2 separate regions of the Homo sapiens genome follow, and region 2 is linked to region 1. The links are contacts of gene promoters, found by promoter capture Hi-C in blood cells and fetal thymus (Javierre and others, 2016). All regions are on one chromosome and are shown on one strand. Each heading gives the region's core, a stretch centred on a gene start or on the middle of the fragment in contact. The rest is flanking DNA. Distances are from core to core; before and after follow the strand shown. Region 1 holds the start of IGFLR1 (IGF like family receptor 1). Region 2 holds the start of OVOL3 (ovo like zinc finger 3).

What was found. Contacts are between HindIII fragments. The CHiCAGO score rates a contact against its expected background, and 5 or more counts as called.
Region 2: the fragment with the promoter of OVOL3 here is called in contact with the fragment with the promoter of IGFLR1 in region 1 in 1 of 17 cell types (neutrophils); the score reaches 5.3 in neutrophils.

Annotation. Positions count from the first base shown.
Region 1 is chr19:35,739,774-35,745,253 of GRCh38, forward strand. IGFLR1 (IGF like family receptor 1) reads right to left here and starts at 2,679. Exons shown (of 5, transcript NM_024660.4): 1 at 2,623-2,679; 2 at 1,251-1,450; 3 at 607-791; 4 at 1-315. The coding sequence starts at 1,407. U2AF1L4 (U2 small nuclear RNA auxiliary factor 1 like 4) reads right to left here. Exons shown (of 6, transcript NM_001040425.3): 2 at 5,352-5,439; 3 at 4,550-4,648; 4 at 4,239-4,372; 5 at 4,036-4,131; 6 at 2,754-3,030. The coding sequence ends at 2,946. RefSeq lists enhancers at 1-627, 975-1,084, 2,432-2,861 and silencers at 765-894, 4,197-4,357. The HindIII fragment of the contact is 10,043 bases long and covers 1-5,480 here.
Region 2 is chr19:36,106,475-36,113,982 of GRCh38, forward strand. OVOL3 (ovo like zinc finger 3) reads left to right here and starts at 4,669. Exons shown (of 4, transcript NM_001302757.2): 1 at 4,669-4,822; 2 at 4,895-4,959; 3 at 6,286-6,490; 4 at 6,979-7,237. The coding sequence starts at 4,729. The coding sequence ends at 7,187. POLR2I (RNA polymerase II subunit I) reads right to left here. Exons shown (of 6, transcript NM_006233.5): 6 at 7,235-7,343. The coding sequence ends at 7,281. It also overlaps a transcript of WDR62 not described here. RefSeq lists enhancers at 4,268-4,898, 4,899-5,528, 7,385-7,508. The HindIII fragment of the contact is 18,213 bases long and covers 733-7,508 here.

The DNA of each region.
Region 1 (5,480 bases), core at 1,429-3,928:
GGAGGACAGATGCGAGGAGGAAGGGGTGTGGGTGTTGGGGACTCCGCAGACCAAGCCAGGATAGGGATAGGGGTCGGCTTTCTCCTTGGGCCAGCAGAGATGCCAGAGCAGAATAAACAGGAGGATCGCTATCACCGCCAAGGTCAGGAGCAGGACCAGCACCACGAGCGGAAGGAAATTCGGCCAGGCCTGCTGAGGGACAGGCTCAGGGGTCCTCCAGGCAATGGAACTTGCTGGTGAGCTGCGCTCCTGGGAGCTAGGGGCGCCTGGGTTTCCAGGTGTGAGGGGGCAGTGCCCCTTGGCAGGGACCGGCCTCTGGGGATAAGGGGTTGGAGTAAAGCTGGAGGCCACACTCCACTCCTGCCCGCTCCCAAACCTCCCAACTTTATATCCTTTAATGGGGCCACATCCCATCTGATACGGTATCTGATAAGGTAGTTGGGCCCCGCAAGGCCCAACTACCTTAACCTAGGACCTCCCGACCCCTGCAGGCCAGCCACCTCCTGAAACCACGGCCCCACCCCTTACGTGGGGCTACGCCGGCTCCCTACATCTAGGCCCCCCACCTCCAGCACGCCCTTGCCCTGCCGGGAGTCCCATCTGCACCTCTCTGCAGCGCCACGGGGTTCTGCCCCCGCCCGCGGCGGGAGTAGGGGTCACGGCTCCGCCGCCGCAGGGGCTACATAGCTCCGCGCCGTCGGGGTTGCACTGCCCAGAAGAACACTTTCGGAACGGGGGCGTTACGAAATCGCCGTGGTCATTGAGTCCGCAGTTTTCCCGGAACTCATAGTCTAGCGGGAAAGCTGCGCTCCAGTGCGGCCGCCTAGCCCGCCCCTGCGCGGGCAACGCCCTCTCCCTTCGCCCTATCCCAGCGTGCCCCGCCCCTCCAGGACGCTTCCAGCCTATTAGCGTGCGCCCCGGTCTTGTCACTTTTCTCCGGGCTCGCCTTTTCACCCCCCTCCAGCCTGCTCCGCACGAAGCTCCGCCCACTCCCGGCTTCTCTACATAAAGCCCACCCTTTCCACGCGGCCCCTATCCCGCCTCTCCAGCCATATCCATTCGCTGTTGCCCTACGGTAGCCCGCACTATCTGCACAGGCTCTGCCTGCCATCCCTGTCTGATCTGCATAAGGCCCACCGCTTAGACCCCTAAGCAAGCCTCTCTGGCCCGTAGCCCACAGACCTCGCCCCTTCCCCGCTCCCTATCACCTGCAAGCTCCGCCCAAGCAAGGCTCGGTCTCGGATTCTCACCCGGGCAGGGGGGCGGCCCGAAGCGTTGCAGGCAGCTGCTGCAGCACTTGTTGTCTGGGTTCCAGTATTCAAGGCGGCCGCAGTACTGGGAGGCTTCCGGCGGTGGCGCCAGGGCCAGAAGCAACAAGGCCGTCAGGAGGCATCGTCCAGGCCCCATCTGGGGGGCCGTGATAGCGGGACTTCCAAACACAGCGCCTCTGCTACACTTTCCGGGGAAATCGGGCAGAAGAAAGGACGCGGTGATGTGGGGGAACAGAATTCTCACGCCTCTTCGGAAGCCGGGAATCTACCCCCGAGCCCTCATCCCCCAACTGAGCCGGTTATCAGAGAAGCCCACAAGGCCACTAGGGGACTAACAGGGCTGCGGATCTAGATTGCAAGAATGCATATCCCACCTCTGCCGTGTCCTCACCCACCCACCCTCCCTTTTCCATCCCTAAAATAAGACAATGATAGCACCTGTCTCATAGGGTTATTGTGGAGAATTAGAACCGTCATTAGAAGTAAAGCAGGGGCTGGGTGTGGTGGCTCATGCCTGTAATCCCAACACTTTGGGAGGCCAAGACAGGAGGATCACTTGAGCCCAGGAGTTCGAGAGATCAGCCTGGACAACAAAATGAAACCCCATCTTTACAAAAAAAAAAAAAAAAAAAAAAAACAGCAAAGCACTTTGCCAAGTGCAGTGGCTCACGTCTGTAGTCCCTGCTACTAGGGAGGCCAAGGTAGGAGGATTGCTTGAGCCATGAATTACAGACCAGCCTGGGCAACACAGCAAGACCTCATCTCTAAAAACAAAAAAAACTGGCCGCCGGGCGCAGTGGCTCATGCCTGTAATCCCAACACTTTGGGAGGCCCAGGTGGGTGGATCACCTGAGGTCAGTAGTTCAAAACCAGCCTGGCCTACATGGTGAAACCCTGTCTCTATTAAAAATACAAAATTAGCCGGGCGTGGTAGCGCATGCCTGTAAATCCCAGCTACTTGGGAGGCTGAGGCAGAATTGCTTGAACCTGGGAAGTGGAGGCTGCAGTGAGCTGAGATCGTGCCATTGCACTCCAGCCTGGGCAACAGGAATGAAACTCCTTAAAAAAAACAAAAACAAACTAAAGTGCTGAAAACAGCACCTCACATACAGTAAACTCAGTGTTTAAGTGTAAGGCATTACTAACTCCCATCACAATTCGGCAGGCACGGAGGAGTCAGCCCCATACTGGCTGGAGACCACCTCCCAGCACCTCACCTCACCTTTGAATCCTAATCTCCTTGGGGCTAGGGCTCCTCCCACCTGCCACAACCAGGTCTCTCCCCCTTGAATAAGCCTCAGATGGAGGTGCTAAGGTTTTCAGCACAAAGGTGTCCCCACCCTACCAGTACCGTTAGGGTCCTGGGTCCCAAGCTGGCCGTGCCAAGTTCCTCAGCTGAAGTTGTGGCCAGGACCCAGTCTTGTTTCCCCTTTTCGTCACATGTGTGGGTGGAGGGAAATGCCAAACCACAGCAAAAGCAAGTTGATGCCGAAGTGAAACACGCAGCTTTATTAAGACAGGGGCGGTAGAAGAAGGTCTCCATGCTGAACAGATTACATTATGGAGCCCGGGAGCCTGGGAAGGATGGGGCAGGAGAGTGAAGGGGGCTTTGAGGAGAGGTCCTGCCAGGAACATCTGTCCCTGTTGGGGGTGAAGGGTAAGGGGGCCAGGGCCTCAGAAGCGGCCATGCCAGTGATCAGGGGAACACCGATGGTTCCTCTCTCGGGGATGGTGGCCAGTATGGAACCTCGGGGGTGACCTGGGAATAGGAGCGTTGAGAGTTCTGTTAGAACCCTGAGGAGTGGTGCAGAGATCCTGCAGGCCTGCCTCTCTGCTCTGGGATGAGGCAGGAGGGTGCTGAAATAACTAGAGTTCTAAGACACGACCTCAGTGGCCAGTATCAGGGGAACTCAGTGGCCAGTATCAGGGGTGGCAATCCAGGCTGGTCGTGGATTAGGGGTTCAGGCTGGTTTGGGGATTGGGACTTAGGTACTGGTCTCCAGATGGAGCTCAGAACTACTCTTAGGGTATAAGAGTCTTGGGAATGACCGGGCGCAGTGGTTCACGCCTGTAATCCCCACACTTTGGGAGGCCGAGATGGGTGGATTACCTGAGGTCCGGAGTTCGAGACCAGGCTGGCCAACGTGGTGAAACCCCATCTCTACTAAAAATACAAAAATTAGCCAGGCATGGTGGCAGGTGCCTATAATCCCAGCTACTTGGGAGGCTGAGAAAGGAGAATTGCTTGAACCTGGGAGGCAGAGGTTGCACTGAGCCAAGACTGCGCCTTTGCACTCCAGCCTGCGGAAGAAGAGCAAAACTCCGTCTCAAAAAAAAAAAAAAAAAAAAAAAAAAAAAACAGTCAGCCGGGAGTGGTGGCTCACGCCTGTAATCCCAGCACTTTGGGAGGGTGAGGCAGGTGGATCACGAGGTTAGGAGTTCAGACCAGCCTGGCCAAGATGGTGAAACCCCATCTCTACTAAAAACACAAAAATTAGCCGGGCATGGTGGCAGGTGCCTGTAATCCCAGCTATTTGGGAGGCTGAGGCAGAGAATTGCTTGAACCCGGGAGGCGGAAGTTGCCATGAACCAAGATGGTGCCAATGCACTCCAGCCTGGGCAACAGAGTGAGGCTCCATCTCAAAAAAAAAAAAAAAAAAAAAAGATTCTTGGGAACGTGGTTACTGGGGCTTAGGGTTAGGCTCATCTGAGGATATAGGGGCCTTAGGACATGAGGAGACATAGCAGGCTGGTCCTGAGGTACCTGCGCCTGGGTCCCCGCCCATAGAGCTGCCTCTGGAGGTTCTGGGAAATGGGCCGCAGATGCATGAAGTTGCAGAAGCCACCTCGGGTACATTCCCTGCATAGAGGGTAGAGAGATGGAGGAAGCCATTGTCACTGACAGCCCCTACCACGCATTCAAAGTCTGGGATTCCAAGTGCCCATCCCACCCTTGAACTACCATACCCCATCTCATACTGGCGACAGCATGACTCCCGGAAGTCAGTGACAGGAGACAGCTCACCGTGCACAGCCTGCCCGTTGAACCAGCGGTTACTGAGTTCAGCCACGGCCCGCTCTCCATCCTCCTCCCTCCGGAACTGCAGGAAATGTCAGTCAGGGTCAGCAGGAGAACTCAGAGATCTTCAGGGGACTCACTACCCGCTCTGGGGCTGGACTGGATTTAGTGATGAAATTCAAGCTGAGAGCCTACAGTGGCCACCATCAGGCATTGAAACGCCTCCACTTCTGGGCCCTAAGTGGGGGGCAGCAAGCACCTTGACATAGACGTTGCCCACGAGGTGGTCCCCAAGGTTGTCGCACACATTCATCTCTTCAATCTCCCCATACTTCTCCTGCAGTTCTGTGAACACCTCCTGTGGAAGACGGGGAGGAACTCAGCTGAGCTCCCACAAGAAACCCCATCTGCCCCTACCAACCCTCACCTCGAAGAAGCTATCATAGTGCTCCTGCACCTCCACGTCACTCACATGACCTGGGGTGGGGGCGGGCAGGGTGGAATCAGAGTGTAGCCTACTGGGGGCTGTTCACCTTGCCCCCAGGCCTGGTCCCTTACTCACAGTGTGATCCGTCTGCAGTTTGGGCTGTGTTCTGTGGATTCCGGTACAGGTTGAGCAGCACTATGGTCTGCACAGAATTTAAAAGGGGCGGGGCCTGAGCTCAGAGGGCAGGGCTGCATGAACAGAGAGTGAGGCATGAAGGTTGGGGGTGGAACCTTACACCCCAGCCTAAGCATCATGAGTGCATCGGCGATCCTTTGCCCCTAAGAAACCAGAAAAGGGATGGAGGGGACTGGCAAGGATGAACAGCGGGATGGAAGGGACTGGCAAAGATGAACAGCCGCCGTGTGTAGCCTGTACGCATGGGGGCGCGACCAAGTTCCCGGGAAAACGGCACGAAGACCGGTGGGAGGAGCCTGCAGAAAGGTCCAATGAGAAAAAAAGCCGGGCGGTGGGGAGGGACTCAGGAACCCGGAATAGGCGGGACATGGTGACGACGGCCCCAGAAGGGGAAGGGCCAGGGAGCCGTTAACCCCCGAGGCTCCGTGCCGGGTCTCACCTGGCTGAATGTCGGCTTGTTGTGAAGCCGGGAGCACCGGTCCCCGTGCCGGCAGACCCCGATCTTAAAGTAAAAAGAGCAGTTAACCCTGGAAAAGGTGCAAAGACAAAGGTGAACCGAGGGCCGGGG
Region 2 (7,508 bases), core at 3,419-5,918, 370 kb after region 1:
CAAACAGATGCAGGAATTAGAGCTCTGTATAATTCTAGATAGGTTGGGGAGATCCATTGCTGGTGAAGGGTCAGGGAAGGCCTTTCGAGGTGACATTTGGGCTGAAGCTTGATAGAGGACATCTCAGGAACACATCCAGGCCGACAGCACAGCCAGTGCACAGGCCTGGGGCAGCCACACGTGATCTGTGTGGAAGCAAGAGGAGCGAAGCCCGGACGGCTGGAATGGAGTGAGCAAGGGGAGGGCAGGAGCTGAGGTGCAAGGAGGAGCAGGGCCTTGTTGCTTCATAACATTTAAGTCCAAGGAATATCCAGAACAGTTTTTTGTTTTTGGGTTTGTTTCTAAATCTCTGCTCTTAATGTTTGGGGGATATCCAGTGTTGCTTATTTCTCACGACTCTGCCTCAGGGAGTCCAGGTGGTCCAGAACTTGAACCACCTGCCTAGGCCTAGGCCCATCTGCCTAGTTCGGCCACCATTGCCCAAAACCTTGCCCAACATCCCTGGGCAAAGCTTGGTGTTCAGCCCCCCAGGCCTCGGACACCCAGGAGACCACCTTGGGCCTCTGTCATGCATGGAATTACCCTTCCTTCCAACCTGTATCATAGTAAAGTCTTCTGCTCCAAGGAGTAAACACCTGGCTTTCAGGGCCCAAGATGGAGGGACGTTGGTTACCCTTGATGTCATCATGCACCTGGCCTCTTCCTCTCCTGCTCTGTTATCCTCTGTGAGCAAGCTTCAGTCTCCAGCTTATGGCCTCATGGTTGCAACACGGCTGCTGTGGCACCCAGCAGCACACCCTCAGGTGGTGTCTCCATTTTGCAATTGTTGGCTTTCCTGCAGCCCTGACTGAAGTGCCTGGCATAAGCCTGGAAGCGCAGGAGCTAGAAGCTGCCCCGATAGTACTGCTATGGGGAGGCTGAGGTTAGATGTGGAGTGCAGGGGGCTCACAGAGGGTGACAGCAGGAGAGGAAGAGGCCAGGTGCACAATGACATGAGGGTCAGAGGCCCAAGTTATTGGTCCCAGCTGCTGGGTGGCCTGGTCCAACCAGGAGCAAAGGCACAGAGCAGGGCACCCTCTAGGGCAGCAGAAAAGATGCAGATCTCTCCCAGGGGTCTCCCTGGGAGACTCATCTGGGGTCAGATGAGTCCCAGGCAACAGGAATGGAGATTGCTTTGATGTGCTTGGACCATCTCTCCTGTCCTGGGCATGTTGCAGCTCAAACAAAGAGGTTCTCTCAATAAGAAAGGCAAGTGGGCTGGTAATCAGAGAGGATCCAGCATGTCTGCCACTTCCCTCTTCCAAATGCCAGGCTCTGTCCTGGAAGGACCATACTTTCTCCATACTTCTTAACCAGGATAAACCACCTGGTTAAGAAGCCACTGCTGGTGGTGCAGCATGTGTGCATGTGGTTTGTGAGCTGACAGGGTCCCAGCAGAAAGATGACAGCATGCTTAGATGGGATATTCCAAAGAGTTTAACCAAGGGATCATTTGCAAAGGAGCAGCAGGGACTGGGAAACCACCGAGGCTGGTGCAGAACCCCAGGACTGGCACCCTGGGAGCTGTTACCACCCCCAGGCCACAAGGCACAAAGAGAAGGAACAAGAACCCAAAAGAGCAAATCCCAGGGAGAGGGTAGTGCTGAGGGAGCTGCAGCCCTGACTCCCACACAGGACGGAGTGAGAATCAACACCCTGACCTTACTCCCCTCCTGCAGGGCACCCCATTGTCCAAATCCTACTGGAAGCCAGAGTGCATAGAAGCCCAGGTGACCCCGCCTCCAGTCAACCTCCTAGGCCATGGAGCAGGGCAGAACAGGACTGAGAGGGTTCCTGGGGAACTGGGTCCCTGGAAGGAAAACAGTTCATCTTTCACTGCAACTCCCCCCCTGCTTCTACCCCCACATCTACCCTTGGCCTCCCCATAGCAGTACCATCAGGACAGCTCCTGGGTCCTGAGCTGCCAGGCCCGTGCCAGGCATCCCAGTCAGGGCTGCAGGAAAGCCAACAATTGCAAAATGGAGACACCACCTGAAACCCCATTTTGCAGATGACCCACCTGAGGCCTGGATGTTTGCCCAGAGGAGGGATTCCTCGGCAGGATGCAGTGGCTCATTCCTGTAATCCCAACACTTTGGGAGGCCAAGGCAGGCAGACGGTTTGAGCTCAGGAGTTCAAAACCAGCCCTAGGCAACATAGCAAGACTCCACCTCTACAAAAAATTTTAAAATTAGCTAGGTGTGGTGGTGCACGCCTGTAGTCCCAGCTACTTGGGAGGTTGATGTGGGAGGATCACTTGAGCCCAGGAGCTTGAGGCTACAGTGAGCTGTGTTCACTCCACTGCACTCCAGCCTAGGTGACAAAGCAAGGCCCTGTCTCAAAAAAAAAAAAAAAAAAAAACCTTCCTAACCAATCCCTGCTTATATGTCTGCCACATGCCAGGCCCCATGCTAAGCATTCTCTCCATGTGAGCTACATGGATCTTCAATACAAACTGGGAAGAGGGAGATTCCTTAGTCTCATTTTCCAGGTGAAGAAACCGAGGCCCAATGAGAAATGACTTGCTCTGGGTCCTGCAGAGAGCAAGCGGAAATGCATGGCCAGCAGACCCTCAGCACTGCCACCCTTGCTTCCCCAAATGAATTGGCACAACTGACTCTCGGGCAATGTAAAGAAATGAAGAAATACTCCTCTCACCAGCAAGCCTTGTACAGATGTCCCCCTCTGACTAGAACACCCTCCCCTTTCATCTGAAACCTTTCAGCGCTTATCCAGGAAGCCATCCCTGTACCCGTAGCCTGGATCAGGAGCCTGTTCGGGTCCCCAGGTACCCCTCTTTTCCCCATCATGGCTGGGTCTCTGCCTCACTTGCCTCTCACTGTCTTGGTCATTCTGGGCTGTCACTGGTGTGCCTCCTTCATGGACTTACGCGATCATTTTCAGTAAGCTAGGTCTGGAGCTTAGAAAATTGTTTAGTTGCCAGGCGCAATGGCTCACGCCTGTAATCCCAGCACTTTGGGAGGTTGAGGCAGGTGGATCACTCGAGGTCAGGAGTTTGAGACCAGCCTGCCCAACATGGTGAAACCCTATCTCTACTAAAAATACAAAAATTAGCCGGGTGTGGTGGTGCGCACCTGTAGTCCCAGCTACTTGGGGGACTGAGGCAGCAGAATCGCTTGAACCCAGGAGACGGAGGCTGCAGTGTGTGGAGATCGTACCACTGCACTCCAGCCTGGGCAACAGAGTGAGAATCTGTCTCAAAAAACAAAACAAAACAAAACAAAAAAAATAAAAACAGGTTGGGCGCGGTGGCTCACGCCTGTAATCCCAGCACTTTGGGAGGCTGAGCCGGGCGGATCACCTGCATTTAGGAGTTTGAGACCAGCCTGGCCAACATGGTGAAACCCCATCTCTACAAAAAACACAAAAAATCAGCTGGGTGCAGTGGTGTGCCCCTGTAATCCCAGCTACTTGGAAGGCTGAGGCAGGAGACTCACTTGAACCCAGGAGGCGGAGGTCATAGAGGAGCCAAGATCACGCCATTGCACTCCAGCCTGGGCAACGAGCAAAACTCCGCCTCAAAAAAAAAAAATTAAAAAACAGAGCTTGGATTGCTTCTTAGTCTTCTGGCTAAGAATCAAGTGTAAAACAGCTTGGCCAGTGTGCCGGGGTAGGGTCCTGGGAGCCCCTGGCTGTGTCAAGAGACCCCCTTTGGGCCAGGTGCGGTGGCTCATGCCTGTAATCCCAGCACTTTGGGAGGCCAAGGCAGGCGGATCACTTGACGTCAGGAGTTCAAGACTAGCCTGGCCAACATGGTGAAACTCTGTCTCTACCAAAAATACAAAAATTAGCCCGGTGTGGTGGTGCATGCCTGTAGTCCCAGCTACTCAGGAGGCTGAGGCAGGAGAATCGTTTGAACCCGGGAGGTGGAGGTTCCAGTGAGCCAAGATGGTGCCACTGCACTCCAGCCTGGGCAACAAGAGTGAAACTCCGTCTCAAAAAAAGAAAAAAAAATAGGAGACCCCCTTTTACTTTCCAGACTGTGGGAGGGAGGAAGAGTGTTGTCCCAGGCAGTAACTAGGGGCTAGATTATTAACAAACTAGTATTTTAGTGCCTGCTACACCTGAACAGTGCTTCTGGCTGAATGTTAGCCCTGGGAATCTGAAGATCAGAGAGGTGGGGCATCCTACCTGAGGATGCACAGCCTGGATCCTCATTTTGCCCTGATTTATCCAGATCTGCTGTCCTCCCTGCACCCTACAGAGCAGGGCAATCACAGCAGGGGGCCCCTTCAGTGTCCTCAGACAGCTGCTGTGATTTGAATAACCAGGCAGGCTGCTGGATGTCCCCTGGTGACTGATTTGCCTGGCAAACAGACCCTCAACCCCTGGGAGACAGTCCCCCTGGGGCCTTGTTTCTTCTTCCTATCCTCAAAAGCTCCCCAGGCCCATCTCCCCTTGCCTGGCTCTGCTTGGTGGTCCTAGTGCTTGTCCACCCCTGGAGGCTGGATGGTTCCCTCCAAAACCTGGGAGAAGATGGGCAGGTCCCCAGGCAGGGGTAACCTGAGCCAGCTTAGTCCACTCCCAGGGCCAGCCAGGAAATTTGCATGAAGAGAATGAGGTTCCTCAGAGGCTTCCCCTCCTTTCCCACCAGGGATAGTCATCCTGGGGCTGAGGTCTGACAGCAGGTGGAAGCAGCCCCTGTGTGTGGAGAGCCTTCCGGAGGGCATGCCCCGCGCCTTCCTGGTCAGGAGTCGGCGTCCACAGCCCCCCAACTGGGGCCATCTGCCTGACCAGCTCCGGGGAGATGCCTATATCCCAGGTGGGCCCCTCACTGTGCCTGGAGGTAAGGGGCAGGAGAGACGCAGTGTCACCATCTGGCTTTTCTCCTCAGACTGCAGCAGCCTGGGGGGGCCACCGGCACAACAGTCGTCCAGTGTCAGGGATCCGTGGACAGCGGTGAGTGTGTAACTGGCTAGCAAAGCCAGCTGTTTCGCTCCTGCCTGCTCTCAGCCTTAATGAAGCTGACAGCCCCTTGCTCCCCCGACCCATCTGCACACGCCCTCCAGCCTCGGGACCTGTCCGCCCCTACTTCTCTGTGTTGGGAATGCCTCTCCTTTCCTAGTAGTGAGCTCTCTACTGTTAGGTCTCACCCCAGGCACCAGGGCCGGCAGCCACAGGGATCTCTTCCAGCGGGGCACAAGATTCATCCCCACATGTGGATGATCCGCTTTATGTCAGAACATGGGACAAGGCAACAGGAGTGCGATGGGAGATAAGGGCTTTTTCAGCTGTGCATGCATTGGAGGAAGGAAAGCGCCAGCCGGAATGTAATATATTCATGAAAGCAAGGCACTGTTCTAGGCATGGGCTGTTATATTCAGCGGGAATAAGACAAAAATCCACAATTTTATGGAGCTTATATTCTGGTTGGGGCTGCATGTATAGACAATAAAATTAGTCAGCCTGTAATTCCAGCACTTTGGGAGGCCGAGGCGGGTGAATCACTTGAGGTCATGAGTTCGAGACCAGGCTGGCCAACATGTTGAAACCTTGTCTCTACTAAAATTACAAACATTAGCCAGACATGGTGGCACGTGCCTGTAATCCCAGCTCCTCAGGAGGCTGAGGCAGGAGAATCAGTTGAACCTAGGAGGCAGGGCAGAGGATGCAGTGAGCCGAGTCTGCGCCACTGCACTCCAGCCTGGGAAACAGATCTAGACTCCATCCCCCCTCAAAAAAAACAATAAAATTAGAAAAATAGACCGGGCATAGTGGCTCATGCCTGTAATCCCAGCACTTTGTGAGGCCAAGGTGGGTGGATTGCTTGAGGTCAGGAATTCAAGACCAGCCTGGCCAACATGGTGAAACCCCATCTCTACAAAAAATAAAAAAATTAACTGGGCATGTGGCGCATGCCTACAATCGTGTAATCGTGGGGAGGCTGAGGCACTAGAATCGCTTGAACCCGGGAGGCGGAGGTTGCAGTGACCTGACATCATACCACTTCACTCCTGCCTGGGCGACAGAGCAAGACTCTGTCTTTAAAAAAAAAAAATGTGTATGTCACATCAGAAGATGGGACTTGGCATAGAGAAAGTAAGGACCATGGGATAGTGAGGGAAGGCCCTGGAGAGTGACAGGCACACACACTAATCACTGTCTCCCACCTGCCTTCCTAATCCTCCGTGGTGGCTCAGGACACTCTGTAAATACTCATTTGCAGAGTAACAAAGGGTGGATGGGGTCCAGCCAGAGAGGCTAATAACTCCTGCATCCCTCCAGCAGCCCACACAGGGCAACCTGACCTCTGCTCCCAGGGGCCCTGGGACGCTGGGCTGCCCGCTCTGCCCTAAGGCCTTCCCTCTGCAGCGCATGCTGACAAGGCACCTCAAGTGCCACAGCCCCGTGCGCCGCCACCTGTGCCGCTGTTGTGGCAAGGGCTTTCATGACGCCTTCGATCTCAAGCGCCACATGAGGACTCACACTGGTGAGCAGTGGCAGGGACAGGGAAAAGTTGCTGGGCCCCAGGTGGGGATGGAAGGAAATGGAGAGAGGTGCTGGGCTGTGGAGTGTCCATGGTTTGTGTATGTGGGGTATGGAGAATCAAGACATGATGTCTCTCGGACCCCAGTGGGTGGGTGTAAGGTGGCACCAAAATAGGGGCCTGTCACGGAATGCAGAGTGCAGACGGATGCCGGTTATACGATTCAGGCTCCAGATCGAAAGGCAAGGGAAGGCCTCCCTCTCCATCCCCCAGGGGAGGGAGCATCCTGGTGAGGGAGAGTGGAGACACAGGTGTCTGGCCCATGTCTGCACTGGGTGACGGTAGCAGATGGTGGGTCATGGGCGGAAGAGTCTGAAGAGCTTGGAATAGGTACCAGAAATGCTCAACACTGGAAAGCAGGGTGGGGGCGCTTTAGTCCAGAGCCCATTGCCCTCTCTGTCCAGCCCTCCCCTCTGCGCCCATCTGTGCAGGGATCCGGCCCTTCCGCTGCAGTGCTTGCGGGAAAGCGTTTACGCAGCGCTGCTCCCTGGAAGCTCACCTTGCTAAGGTGCATGGACAGCCGGCCAGCTACGCTTACCGTGAGCGCCGCGAGAAGCTGCACGTGTGCGAGGACTGCGGCTTCACCAGCTCCCGGCCCGACACCTACGCACAGCACCGCGCCCTGCACCGCGCAGCCTGATACGGTGTGCCAGCGTCCTCCCCACGAGGCAAATAAACACAGAAAACTCACGCATGGAATCTGGTGTTTATTACACTCGGGGGAGAGAGGAGGTCACTCGGTCCAGCGGTGGCCGCAGTGTGGGGCTGTGCACACGTAGTAAAGGCGCATGGCGTCCTGGCAGAAATGATGCATGGTTAGGAAGGATTTGGACCCAGCAGCGCCTTACCCCAAAAGAACAGGCAAGAGAACTTCACCAATAGGTAAGGGCCCGGCAGAGTTCCAAGAAGCGCAGGGTCACCCACATTGATATCCCCGCCCCCAGAAAGGACCAAACAAGCC